Linked DNA regions of Homo sapiens: regions 1 and 3 are each linked to region 2. The links are contacts of gene promoters, found by promoter capture Hi-C in human tissues and cell types (Jung and others, 2019). All regions are on one chromosome and are shown on one strand. Each heading gives the region's core, a stretch centred on a gene start or on the middle of the fragment in contact. The rest is flanking DNA. Distances are from core to core; before and after follow the strand shown. Region 1 overlaps PLA2G6 (phospholipase A2 group VI). Region 2 holds the start of DMC1 (DNA meiotic recombinase 1). Region 3 holds the start of SLC16A8 (solute carrier family 16 member 8).

Evidence for each region. The method cuts DNA at HindIII sites, captures the fragments that hold promoters and counts their contacts. A contact is called where the count stands out against the background at its distance.
Region 1: a fragment that was not itself captured here is called in contact with the fragment with the promoter of DMC1 in region 2 in 9 of the 25 tissues and cell types used here (H1 embryonic stem cells, IMR-90 fibroblasts, dorsolateral prefrontal cortex and 6 more).
Region 3: the fragment with the promoter of SLC16A8 here is called in contact with the fragment with the promoter of DMC1 in region 2 in 4 of the 25 tissues and cell types used here (H1 embryonic stem cells, IMR-90 fibroblasts, dorsolateral prefrontal cortex and 1 more).

What each region holds. Positions count from the first base shown.
Region 1 is chr22:38,171,569-38,175,384 of GRCh38, forward strand. The region is part of intron 1 of PLA2G6 (phospholipase A2 group VI); the gene reads right to left. Among named protein-coding and RNA genes, the nearest start is that of PLA2G6, 8.4 kb to the right of the region's middle. RefSeq lists an enhancer at 2,542-2,686 and a cis regulatory region at 2,614. The HindIII fragment of the contact is 3,596 bases long and covers 140-3,735 here.
Region 2 is chr22:38,568,324-38,572,217 of GRCh38, forward strand. It overlaps DMC1 (DNA meiotic recombinase 1), which reads right to left and starts at 1,860. Exons shown (of 14, transcript NM_007068.4): 1 at 1,720-1,860. LOC105373031 (a long non-coding RNA gene) reads left to right here and starts at 2,177. Exons shown (of 2, transcript NR_134627.1): 1 at 2,177-2,271; 2 at 2,430-3,035. RefSeq lists a silencer at 1,856-2,145 and enhancers at 2,449-2,959, 2,546-2,595. The HindIII fragment of the contact is 22,042 bases long and covers 1-3,894 here.
Region 3 is chr22:38,082,013-38,085,604 of GRCh38, forward strand. SLC16A8 (solute carrier family 16 member 8) reads right to left here and starts at 2,172. Exons shown (of 6, transcript NM_013356.3): 1 at 1,976-2,172; 2 at 1,030-1,349; 3 at 648-869; 4 at 1-20. The coding sequence starts at 861. It overlaps BAIAP2L2 (BAR/IMD domain containing adaptor protein 2 like 2), which reads right to left. Exons shown (of 14, transcript NM_025045.6): 14 at 2,888-3,363. The coding sequence ends at 3,288. RefSeq lists a silencer at 631-680 and an enhancer at 1,656-2,437. The HindIII fragment of the contact is 9,296 bases long and covers 1-3,592 here.

The DNA of each region.
Region 1 (3,816 bases), core at 688-3,187, 400 kb before region 2:
AGCACTCTGGGAGGCTGAGGAGGGCAGATCACTTGAGGTCAGGAATTTGAGACCAGCCTGACCAACATGGTGAAACTCCGTCTCTACTAAAAATATAAAAAAATTAGCTGGGCATGGTGGTGGGCACCTATAATCCCAGCTACTTGGGAGACTGAGGCAGGAGAATCACTTGAGCCCGGGAGGTGGAGGTTGCAGTGAGCCAAGATAGCACCACCGCACTCCAGCCTAGGTGACAGAGTGAAGACTCCGTCTCAGAAAAAAAAAAAAAAAAATTATAAAGACAGGGTCTTACCACGTTGCTCAGGCTGGTCTCGAACGCCCGGGTTCAAGCGATCTGCCTGCCTCAGCCTCTCAAAGTGCTGGGATTACAGGTGTGAGTCACCGTGTCTGGCCTAAAATGTTCTTGATACACCATCACCAGATGCCAGGTTCTCTCTCCTTGCTCTGGGCTCTCCCTCACTTTAAACACATCTGTACTATCACAGCCCAGCATGTTACAACTGCCCCTCCTGCCAGACGGTAAGCTTCGTCATCCTCCTACCAAACACTCCTGTGCATCTTGCTGGCACCATCCTGAAAGCTTTACGTACATTAATCATTCTGTCTGACAACCACTCTATGAACTGGTTACTATTATTATCCTCATTTTACATATGAGAACACCAAAGAACAGAGGGGTAAAGTCACGGGCCCAGGGTCACCCAGCTAGTGGGTGGAGCAGTGAAAGCTGGCACCCAGATGGGCTGGCCCAGAGTCTGAGTTTCTCAAAGGCAGCTGCTCGTCTTTTCATCTCCGTCCACAAGCTTGGCTCACAGAAAGTTTGTCAAAACAAAAATTTAACTGAGTAAATATTATGCATAGAAAAAACAAAGCCTGATAGAAAACAAACCAAGATAGACTGACAGAAAACATGCCATTGAGTAGATGAGGGTGCTGGGTTTATGGGCTTTTGTTTTTTCCTTTTCCCTATTTTCCAGATGCTATGTAAAGCGATTATAGTTTTCAAAGGAAGTAGCAGTATAGGCTGAGCCTCTGGGGGCTGCAGCCGGGAAGATGGGGACCTGTGGGACTCAGGCCTGGCCTGGAAGAGCGCAGAGAGGCTACCCCGAGGACGGGCCCACAGGGACGCGGAGGGGTGCGCCCAGGAAGGGCAGAGAGTCAAGAGCATCCAGCACCCATGAGCCTCAGATTGAGGGAGAAAGTCACCAGGGGTGCAGTGAAATCAAAGAAAGATTCCACACACCCCTTCGTCAATGGCCCAGCCTGTGTACCCCCCACCAGAGCCTGGGGCTAGGGGATGCCCCCCACACACCCACGACAGCATGGCCACAGAAACGACAGGCTTGGCTGGCATCCAGCCTTCAGGGTAGGCAGGAGGACGAGATGACGCAATGGAGGGAAGGTGTCTGGGACACAGGCCGACTGTGGGCACACAAACAGTGGCCATTGTTATCACTAGGTGGAAGAAAGGAAATGACAGCCACGGGGCCACATCCTGGAACACTCACGGCATTGCCAACCAGGAAGGCGGGCCAGCAGGGAGAAAGTGCTCACACGTGCTTCCTTCTGTCCCTGCCACCTTGGACCCTGGAGCCTAGGCTCTTCCCAGCACAGCTGCAAGAGGGGGATGGTGGATGAGGGCCCCCCGCATCATGCCTCACTTCATCTCTCCCCCTGGCTTCTCACAGCGTCCTACCCTTGACCTTCCCGTGGGGTAGACAATCACTTTTCCCCACTGATGACCGGCCCCTCCTCCTCCTTACCTGGGCTTCTCCCTGCACCCCCAGGATGCCCAGGTCACCTGACACAGACCGCACCTCGGCTGTGTCAAGCAGCTCTCTCAAACACCACAAGCAGAAAGACAAAGACCCAAGACCTTTGGTGGTGGGGGTTGACAGTGACAATTCTGCCTGTCCAAGCCAGGCAATTTCCAGGTACCAATTTTGGTGCCCCTGCTGAGGGAAGCCAGATATTTCTGGCCGTTTTCCTTATCTCTGCTCACCCATCCTCTGTCAAAACCAAGCTTGCCTGCTGGGTTCATTGAGGGAAGACTGACAGAGAGTGTGCTGGTGTGAGGGTCCCCTGGAGGAGCTGAAGGACGGGAGGAACAAGTATTATTATCCCATCTTCCCATCTCAGAGATCAAGAAACTGAGGCCCAGAGAGGCCCTGAATTGTACATGTTCAAAGGGCAAATTAAGGCCGGGCACAGTGGCTCGTGCCTGTAATTCCAGCATTTTGGGAGGCTGAGGCAGACGGATTGCTTGAGCCCAGGAATTTGAGACCAGCCTGGGGAACATGGCAAAACCCTGTCTCTACAAAATATAAAATAAAATTAGCTGGGCATGGTGGTGTGCGCCTGTGGTCCCAGCTACTCGGGAGGCTAAGGCAAGAGGATTGCTTGATCCTCTTGAGGTCGAGACTGCAGTGAGCCAAGATTGCACTACTGCACTCCAGCCTGGGAGACAGAGCAAGACCCTGCCTCAAAAACAAAACAAAACAAAGGGCAAATTAAAGTTGATGTCCACCAAAAAACAAAAACAAACGGGCTGGGCGCAGTGGCTCACGCCTGTAATCCCAGCACTTTGGGAGGTTAAGGCGGGCGGATCACGAAATCAGGAGATTGAGACCATCCTGGCTAACATGGTGAAACCCCGTCTCTACTAAAAATACAAAAAAAATTAGCTGGGCGTGGTGGCGGGTGCCTGTAGTCCCAGCTATTCGGGAGGCTGAGGCAGGAGAATGGCGTGAACCCGGGAGGCGGAGCTTGCAGTGAGCCGAGATCATGTCACTGCACTCCAGCCTGGGCGAGAGCGAGACTCTGTCTCAAAAAAAAAGAAAGAAAGAAAAACAAACGAAGAAACAAAAAACCTCGAGTGGGAACAGAGGGAGATTGGAGCCAATGGTAGCATCTCTGATGAGTTCCCTGGAAGTGACTACCTGGGTTCATAAAACAGTCAACAGAGAGACCCAAGACCAGTCCCTGTCTCGCCAAGTGCACGGTCCCCTGAGGGAAGGACCCCTAAAGGGGATGACTTTTTAGCTGAACTTTCCAGGAAGAACAGGAGTTTGCCAGCGGGGGAAATGGCGAGAGGCCTTCACAGCAGATGAAGCAGATCAGAACACGGAGGAAGGCAGAGATCAGGGGCTTGCTCAGCCCACCCATGAACGGTGAGCATTTTCACTGGGACTGGACGGCTCGAGAGGGGAAGGTGCTGAGAGGAGGGGCCGTGGTTAGTGCTGTGATCAACGTGAACACAGGTCACCTGGAGCCACTTGTCCAGGGCTGCTATGTCAGTCACGCCCCTCGCCATGCCCAGGGAAGCTCCTCTCATGACGAGGAGCCAAGCCCCGGAAGAAGTGCAGTAGAGGACAAGGGACCAAGAGGGTGGCTCAGAGCGGGTGGTGAGGGAGAACTCAGTCCCAAAAATCTGGTTCCTCCTCAGCTACGAATTCCCTGAAGGACCCTGGGCAGGTCTCAGGCACGGGAGGAGCGGTCCCTGCCCTCTGATTGCTGCTACCTGCCGCAGCTGCCAGGCCCAGGCAGTCCCCTCTCCTCCCCTTTGGAAGGTCTGTGTGAAAACTGCTTTTCTGTAGTGAAAGGGGCCTGCACTTGCGTCCTCCCTGGAATGCGCTCTCCAGTTCCTGCTGGAGCCCCTGCTCATCCTTCAAGGCCCAGCTGCCCCCTCTGAATGCTCAGAGCACCAGAGTGCCCTTCCAGCCTGCACGGTTCCCAACCCAGCCTGACACCCCTCCATGCCCACTGTACGATGCAAATCCAGCTGCAGGTCTCCCTGCTGACCCTGGCCAGTGGCGC
Region 2 (3,894 bases), core at 610-3,109:
CCTTTGTCCAGGGGCCTCTGATTTCATTTCAAAGTCAACAAGGACTAGAAGGACAGTAAGAGAAGCATTTAGCTTGGAAAGATGAGGCCAGCCTATCTTCTTTCTGCGAGACATGTGACATTATTTCTTGTGTGTGTGTGTGTGTGTGTGCATGTGTGTGTGTGTCCCCACATGCACACAGATGCCTGAGGGGCAAATTGGGGGGTGCTTATTTAGTTTCTTCTCTTTCCCCAACAGTGATCACTTATCATCTGGTTTCCATTGCACAGCTAATCATGACTTTATTACTGCCTTGAATGTTATTTAGAATTGCATATTGCTTTTAACCTTTCTTGTTTATGTTTAACAACAATACTCTAGGAACCTTGACATTATATCATTCTTCCTTGTGTCCTCCCTGACACCTCCAACTTTGTCCTCAATAAATGGATTCTATTTTTCTCATCTATGATGAATGCCTTCCTGCCTGCTGATTATGAATGGGTACTCCTGTAACATCCACCTTTTTGTTTCATAGAACATTAGCTATACTTTCTTTCACAGTATTTACTAGTTTCATGATTTTTTTAAGATTTAAAAATATGGTGGTCCGGGTGTGGAGGCTCATGCCTGTAATCCCAGCACTTTGGGAGGCCGAGACAGGCAGATCACGAGGTCAGGAGTTCGAGACCAGCCTGGCCAATCCCCGTCTCTACTAAAAATACAAAAAAATTAGCCGGGCGTGGTGGTGGGCGCCCGTAATCCCACCTACTTGGGAGGCTGAGGCAGGAGAATCGCTTGAACCTGGGAGGCGGAGGTTGCACTGAGCCGAGATCATGCCACTGCACTCCAGCCTGGGCGACAGTGCGAGACTCAGTCTCAAAAAAAAAAAAAAAAATTGGTGGATCATAATATTATATTAAGGCTGATAAGCAGTTAAAGTTTTTAACATTGTAGACTCAAAAAGAAATCTCAGGAATCCACAAGGCGTGATTGTGTTTATTTATTACAATAAAATGCGGTCCAAATCATCATTTTTCTTGGTCGATTCCATTTCCTCATTTGATACCAAAGTCAGGGGTTGGACCCTAGAACAAAGGGAACGAACCATTAATACTAAGGCAGGAGCAGGGTCCTACCACCCAGCACCTCAAACGGCAAAGGATGGAAGGCAACCGAGACCGTTCGGATGGGATCTTCGGGGACACTGTCCTTCAGATGGCTAGCTATGAGTACCCCAATTCCACATTTACTGTCCCCATCGAAGAGAAAAACAGCATTCATTTCTTCTCCCCGTGATGAAATGAAAAGATTGTCCCCCATCTCTCAAGGAGCCGTTGATAGACTGAACCGTTGGATTGAAAGTAGGGCTCCCCAATCCCCCGGTTTAAGACGACCCAGCTGTCCCCTCTGGTGGGGGCAGCAGCGCGGTCGGGTCGCCCTCGACGCCTCCCTCAGCAGGAGGCCTGGGCAGACCCCCTGCGGCCGCCGGACATTTTCCTGACACCGGATTCCCTGGTCAGGAGGATGAGGCGGGCTCTCCTAGACTCAGGTCCGATTCGATTGAAAATGAGGTTGGAAATCCCTCAAGATCACTAAAATTCCTCCCCAAAGGTCGGAGCGGAACGCTCAAAGTCACTAGCCCAGGGACCCCAAAAAAGGAGCGAGAAAGGGAAGCGCGCCTTCTCAAAACGAGCGTCCCCTCAGAGTCTTCGCACGCTGTTCGTTTTTGCCACTTACCCCCCTCGTACCCACAGTCTCCCCGAGATTTTCAAGGTGAAGCCCCTCTGCCCCGCCCGACCTCCTCAGCTGACAGGATTCTAACTCGGGCCTAGAACACGGAGCCTGGAGACCCGCGCGCCGTTGACCACAGGGTTTGGCGCCAAACGAGGAGGGCGGGGCGAGGACCAAGGGGCCGGGGCGGGGCGCAGGGTGAGGGTGGAAGGGCGGGGAGGGAGCAGGCCTACAGAGGGCGACGAGGGGCGGGGAGCAATGGGGGCGGGGCGAAGACCGAAGGGCGGGGAACGAGCGGGCTCACAGGTGGGGGGACCAGAGGGCGTGGCCTGGAGGGGGCTCAGGGCGAGGGGGCGGGGCGAGGGCTGAGGCGCGGAAAACGAAGAGGAGCCCCAGCGGGTGGCGAGCTGGGATGACGGAGGGAGGGAGGGAGGGGCGCTGTGGAAGGAGCGCGCTGAGGAGCGGGGCCTTGAAGGGAGACCGTTGAGCTGGGGCGTCCCTCGAGCTGAGCACCTCGCTAAAGTCCGGGAGAAGACCCTGAGGCGGGGTTCTGAGGAGGTAGCCTTGAGTCGGGGGAGGGGCGATGAGCAGAGGTGGCTGACTTTGGCGATAGGTCTTGGTCGCGAGGGTTGCAGATGGAGCCTTGGCTTAGAAGGTCGAATCCGGGCCCGTTTCCCCCCGCCCCCGCTGCCCATGGCTTCTCTTTTCACCTCCAGGTTTTCATGCTGGCTTCAGAGTTTGGCCGTGCTCCCTCAGCGTTCCTAATTTCCCACTTTCTGACTCTCACCATTTGCCACTCTTGTCTGTGATTGAGACACCCGAGGCCCATTCAGGATGGAGAGTAATTTTTTCTCTGTCTTAACTTGAAGTTTTAAATAGACCACAGACGCCAAGTATATTTTGGTTCAGCTTTTAAATAGAAGTCGCAGGCCAGCCTTCGTGCCAGCAGCGCCATCGCTGGCAGCATCCTCCTCCTCCCCTCACGCGGAGACTGACTTGGGGAGAGTCAGGAAACATTTGAGAGAGCAGCTGCCGAGGTGGAGGCTGTGATGTATCTTGGATGAATCTCTGTGCAAACAGTTCTTTGGGTTCAAGACCTAGTACAGGGCGATCCTTTTTGTTTTTTCTGTCTGAATCATTTTGGTGGAATAAATAGCAAAACATTCCCACAATAGCAGTTGGCATTTTGTGTAGGACGCACCCCCCCAACAGGTGGATTGTTTTAAGAGCCAACAAATAACTGCCATTGTGCTTCCAAATCTGTTATTTTCCCCCAAACACAGTCGTCCTTGTTATATGGAGATGAATGCCCATTTGGGGGAGGAACTGGATAGTGGTGAAAGGCTTTCGCTCTGAGGCCTCACCTAAATAATTATGGGAACTTTTGAGCAACTCGTTAGGTGAAGACATCAACAGTCTACAGAAGAGCTGCAAAGAGCACAGCAAGATGATTTAGGGAAATATAACATATGTAGTTTGGTGTAGTGACAGCTGGGAGAGAGAAATGTTCATAATATTTGAAGGTTGTGTGCAGTACACTTAAAAAAACTAAAATGAGCTGGGTAATGACAAATTCATGAAGGGAGGAGAAAAATCTTATCTGGGTATCATATCGATGGTTAGAGACAACTTTTAAGATATTTAAAACAACAACAAACTCTAGGACAGTTAAAAAGTGCACATGAAGACTTTCCACTAAAATCGGAACCAAAAAAATTGTCTTTCGTATCATACAAAAACTCTGAATATCATGAAGGTGGCATTTCACATCAGTGGAGAAATGATGAATTCAGTGAATAGTGTTAGAACAACTAGGTAACCATCTGGAAGAAAAATAAAATTGGAACCACACTTTACACATTATACCAAAATAAATTCCAGACAGATCAAAAAATTAAATCTGAACAATAAAATAATAAAAGTACTAGAAGAAAATATGGGATATTTAAAATTACTTTGTAATAAGAAACATCTTTTTAAGTATGCTACAAAACTCAGAAGCCATGAAAGATTGTTAAGTATGCTTATATTTAAAAAAATATATCCTGCATGGCAAAATGGTACTTTCCTATCCACAATATAGAACATGGCAAACCAGAGCTTTTGTGTCAATTATTAACTGGATAATATAGCTTGCCTAATTTTTCAAATCCTTCAGGAAGTCCACAATTTCTCTACACA
Region 3 (3,592 bases), core at 922-3,421, 490 kb before region 2:
GAGGATGCTGGACACGGGGCCTGTGGGCAGGGCAGGGTCACCACCCGGGTCCCGGGATGGCTTGAGTCCTCTAAGGAATAAGGTCACCTCCGGCTCAGGGACACAGAGAGGAGGGCAGTGTCTGGCCAAGGTCACACAGCTTGGAGGGGACAGGCCAAAGAGACAGCATCCTGCGAGGGCAAGGCCCAGAGCACCCCATCCTGCGAACCCAAACCCCAAGCGGAGCGGGGGCTTCCGCACCCCTTTAACCTTCACAGCCTCCAAGTCCCGCCCTGGCACAGACTGGGATTCCTCCGCAGCCCCGCCTCCCAGGATGGGAACTCCAGCAAGCCCCCACCTACAGGTCAGGGCTGCGGGGAGGGGGAGTGCTTCTGTGGCTCTCAGCTTTCCTGCCTCTACAATGGGCGGGTGTGGTCTTAGAAGGGGCCCTCTGAGCTCGCAGGGCAGCCCCCTGGGCCGGCCCCGCCTCTGGCCGCTGTCTCCCTCCCGCCCTCTCTTCCCCTCTTTCTGGTGCCAGGGTTCCCACAGGCAGGAAGGGACTTCGGGGGCCACCCCGAGGGTCAGGGGGATGCTCAGGGGCTCGGGTGTCTCCTGGTTCCGGATCCCAGGGGTCCCGGGGAGGCGGAGGGCCGGGCGGGGACACTGACCCGTGCCGTAGAGCATGGCTAGCATGATGGAGGACACCCAGGCCGTGTCGCTGTAGCCGGCGTCGAAGTCGCGCATGAGCGCGCGGAAGAAGACGCTCACGGCTTTGGGGAAGCCGTAGGCGAAGCCGGTGACCACAAAGCAGGCGCCCAGCACCACCCAGCCCCAGCCGCCGTCTGGGGGGCCCTCGCCCCGCCGGGGGCCGCCAGCGCCCATCGCTGCCTCTGTTGGGAGGGGGCGGGGACAAGAGGGAGGGGCTGGGCCAGCAGCCTAGAGAAGGAGGGGGATGGAGACGAAGCATGGGGAAACTGAGGCACAGGGCTACCCACGTGAGGGTGGCTCAGGTCTGGGAACCAAAAGGGGAAACGGAGGTAGGACTCTCACCCCAAGTCTCCTTCTCCTGCAAAGGGCGCTGAAGGACGAGGGGAGGACGACGGGTCCCACCTGACTCTGCACCTCTGCAGGCTCCCTCTGAAGGACAACTGCTGGCCCCTCAGGGCCTCAGGTGGAAGGCGTCGGGAAGTGGAGCAGGTATGTGCCTGGAGGTGGGCGTCCAGCACCAAAGTCGCCCCGTACGCGTGAGGGTCTCGGGACAACAGAACAAACAGCAGAGGGGCAGATGCCGGCTGCAAAGGGCCGCTGTGCGTGATTTTCCTCTTTAGCCTTCCGCCATGTTCCTAATGTTTCTCAGTGATCACAAATGACTATTGTCATTAGAACATTAAGGGGACAAAAGCCACTTTCAACAGATATCAGCCAGGGGAGCTGAGTTCCCATGCATCTCAGCTCAGCCATGGATTCCCTCCCTGACTTGGGCCGGTCGCCTCCCCTCTCCCAACCTCCCTTTCCTCCGATGTAAGATGGGTGATTGATCACCCCGAGGCCAGCTGGGAATCTTGCGGGAGAGGAGTCAGGTCTCTGGCTTCTGCCAGACAGGTAGGAACCTTAGCAGCACTGAGAGAGTGGCCTTCTGCCCTCCAAACCTCAAACCCTCTATATGAAAAGAATGGCTCCAAAGCCTGTCTCATTCCTGGGGCTCCACCCGGGGCCCTCACAGCAGTTACAAGCGCCCCCATAACAGATGAGGAGGGTGTACTCAGAGACAGGTGCACCAGGAGCCGGGGGCTGGGGATAGCCTCCTGCCCTCCTGCCTGGAGTGTCCCTCCTGGCACTGGGCAGTGCCACCACCCCCAGGGTATCCGGGACTCTGCCCCTCCTCCACTAGGACCAGGTTGTGGCTTTTCCTGCCTGTTGTCCTCTTGTCACAGGGGCAGCCACTTGAAGGTGGAGACAGGAGGGTGATCCCAGGCAGCCCTCACATCACACTCACCTGAGCCTGCCTCGTGGGTTTGGGGGTCCAGCCTCACATCTCCTGAGGCCTGCAGGGAGGGGCCGCCGCCGCAGCTCCCGGTGAAGCTTACCCGGATGGGGGCTGCCAGACACCCCAGCTTCCCACCAGCCTGGGCTGAGCCTCTGGCCGACTCCCGCCTGACGCTCCCTGCCCCAGGCCTGGAGCTTAGAGTGTGTGCCCCCACCACACCTCACCCCTGCTAAGAGGCTTTTGTCCAGGAGGGGAGAAGAGACTGGGAGCCCCAGGCCAGGCTGGGCCTCGGCGGTGGGCTCCCTGTCCCAAGCCAGTCCAGGAGGGAGGAAGAGAATCCCTGTGCCTCCTGGAGCCTGGGGTGGTAGACACAGAGACCTTGCCCAGGGGGTCCTAGTCTGGTGCTGGGGGCACAGCCCTGCCCTGAAGAGACCCCAACGGTTCTAATCACCTCAGTGCCTCATCTGCCCCCGCCCCAACCCCCCGCCCCAGGCCACATTCCAGGAGGGGCTGGCAGCTTTCTCTAGAATGAAGCTAATCCACGCCTGTGCCTGGGAATGTGGGGGGGGGAGGGGCCAAAACAAAGGGTGCTGTGTCCAGGCCGCCTGAGGGCAGCTTGCTGGTGGTCCCAGCCCTTGGCCACTGCCACCTCTCCCCTGACCCGAGCAGCCGCTACTTCCTAGGAAACCCACAGGTCGAAATGAGAGCAGGTGGAGATGGGGGCTGCAGCGCGAGGGCTTTGGGGCAGCCCTAAAGAGTTCTCCAAACAAACAAACAAGGGGCTGGGAGTGAGATGGCTTCCCGGGGAACAGCCAGGACCTCAGTACCCCCTAGACCCCATTCTCCAATGGGGGAGTCTCTATCCCTCACCCCCTGCCCTGTCCCCCAAATAAGACACCACCAGTCCTGCTGCCGCATCACTTTGCGTCCACTTCCTTTATTTCTCATCATTTACAAAAGATGTACAGAGAGGGCATGTGTTGGGCACGGAGCAGGTACAAGGGGCTCCTCCCCACGGGGGCAGAAAAGGGGGAAAGAGGTTAGGGGGCAAGAGGTGGGCCCCCCAGGGAGAGTCCTGGAGCCCCTGGAGGGGGAGAAATTGTCCTGTCCCCCCATTCCGCCTGCTTTACTTTGAAGGTCTCGGACCCCAAGCCAGTGCTTTGGAGCTGCTCAGGCTGCCGGGGTGGTCTGGGGAGGGCAGCCACCCCCCGTCTCAGGGACCCGCTTCTTGGATCTGCTGCTGTTGCTGCTGTCGCTGCCATTGCCAGCTCTGAACAGCCCCTGGGCAGGTGCACTGTGGGGTACGACCTCGGACCCCGCCTCAGCGGATGAGGGGTGCTGAGCGGTCATTGGTGATGGTGGGACGAAGCTTGACAGTGGCAAAAGGATTTGTGCCCCTGTAGGAGGAGAGAGAGAATGGGGTGAGAAGGGCAGATGATCCCCACCTGGCCATGGCTCAGGAAGGCAGCTGGGCAACTGAGCTGGGTCCTGCCTCCTGCCCCTATTTGGTCTCCATCCACTCCTTGCCCCGCTTCATCTTTTTTTTTCTTTTAAGAGATAGGGTCTCACAGTGTTGCTCAAGCTGATGTTGAACTGTTGGAATCAAGAGATCCTCCTGCCCCAGTC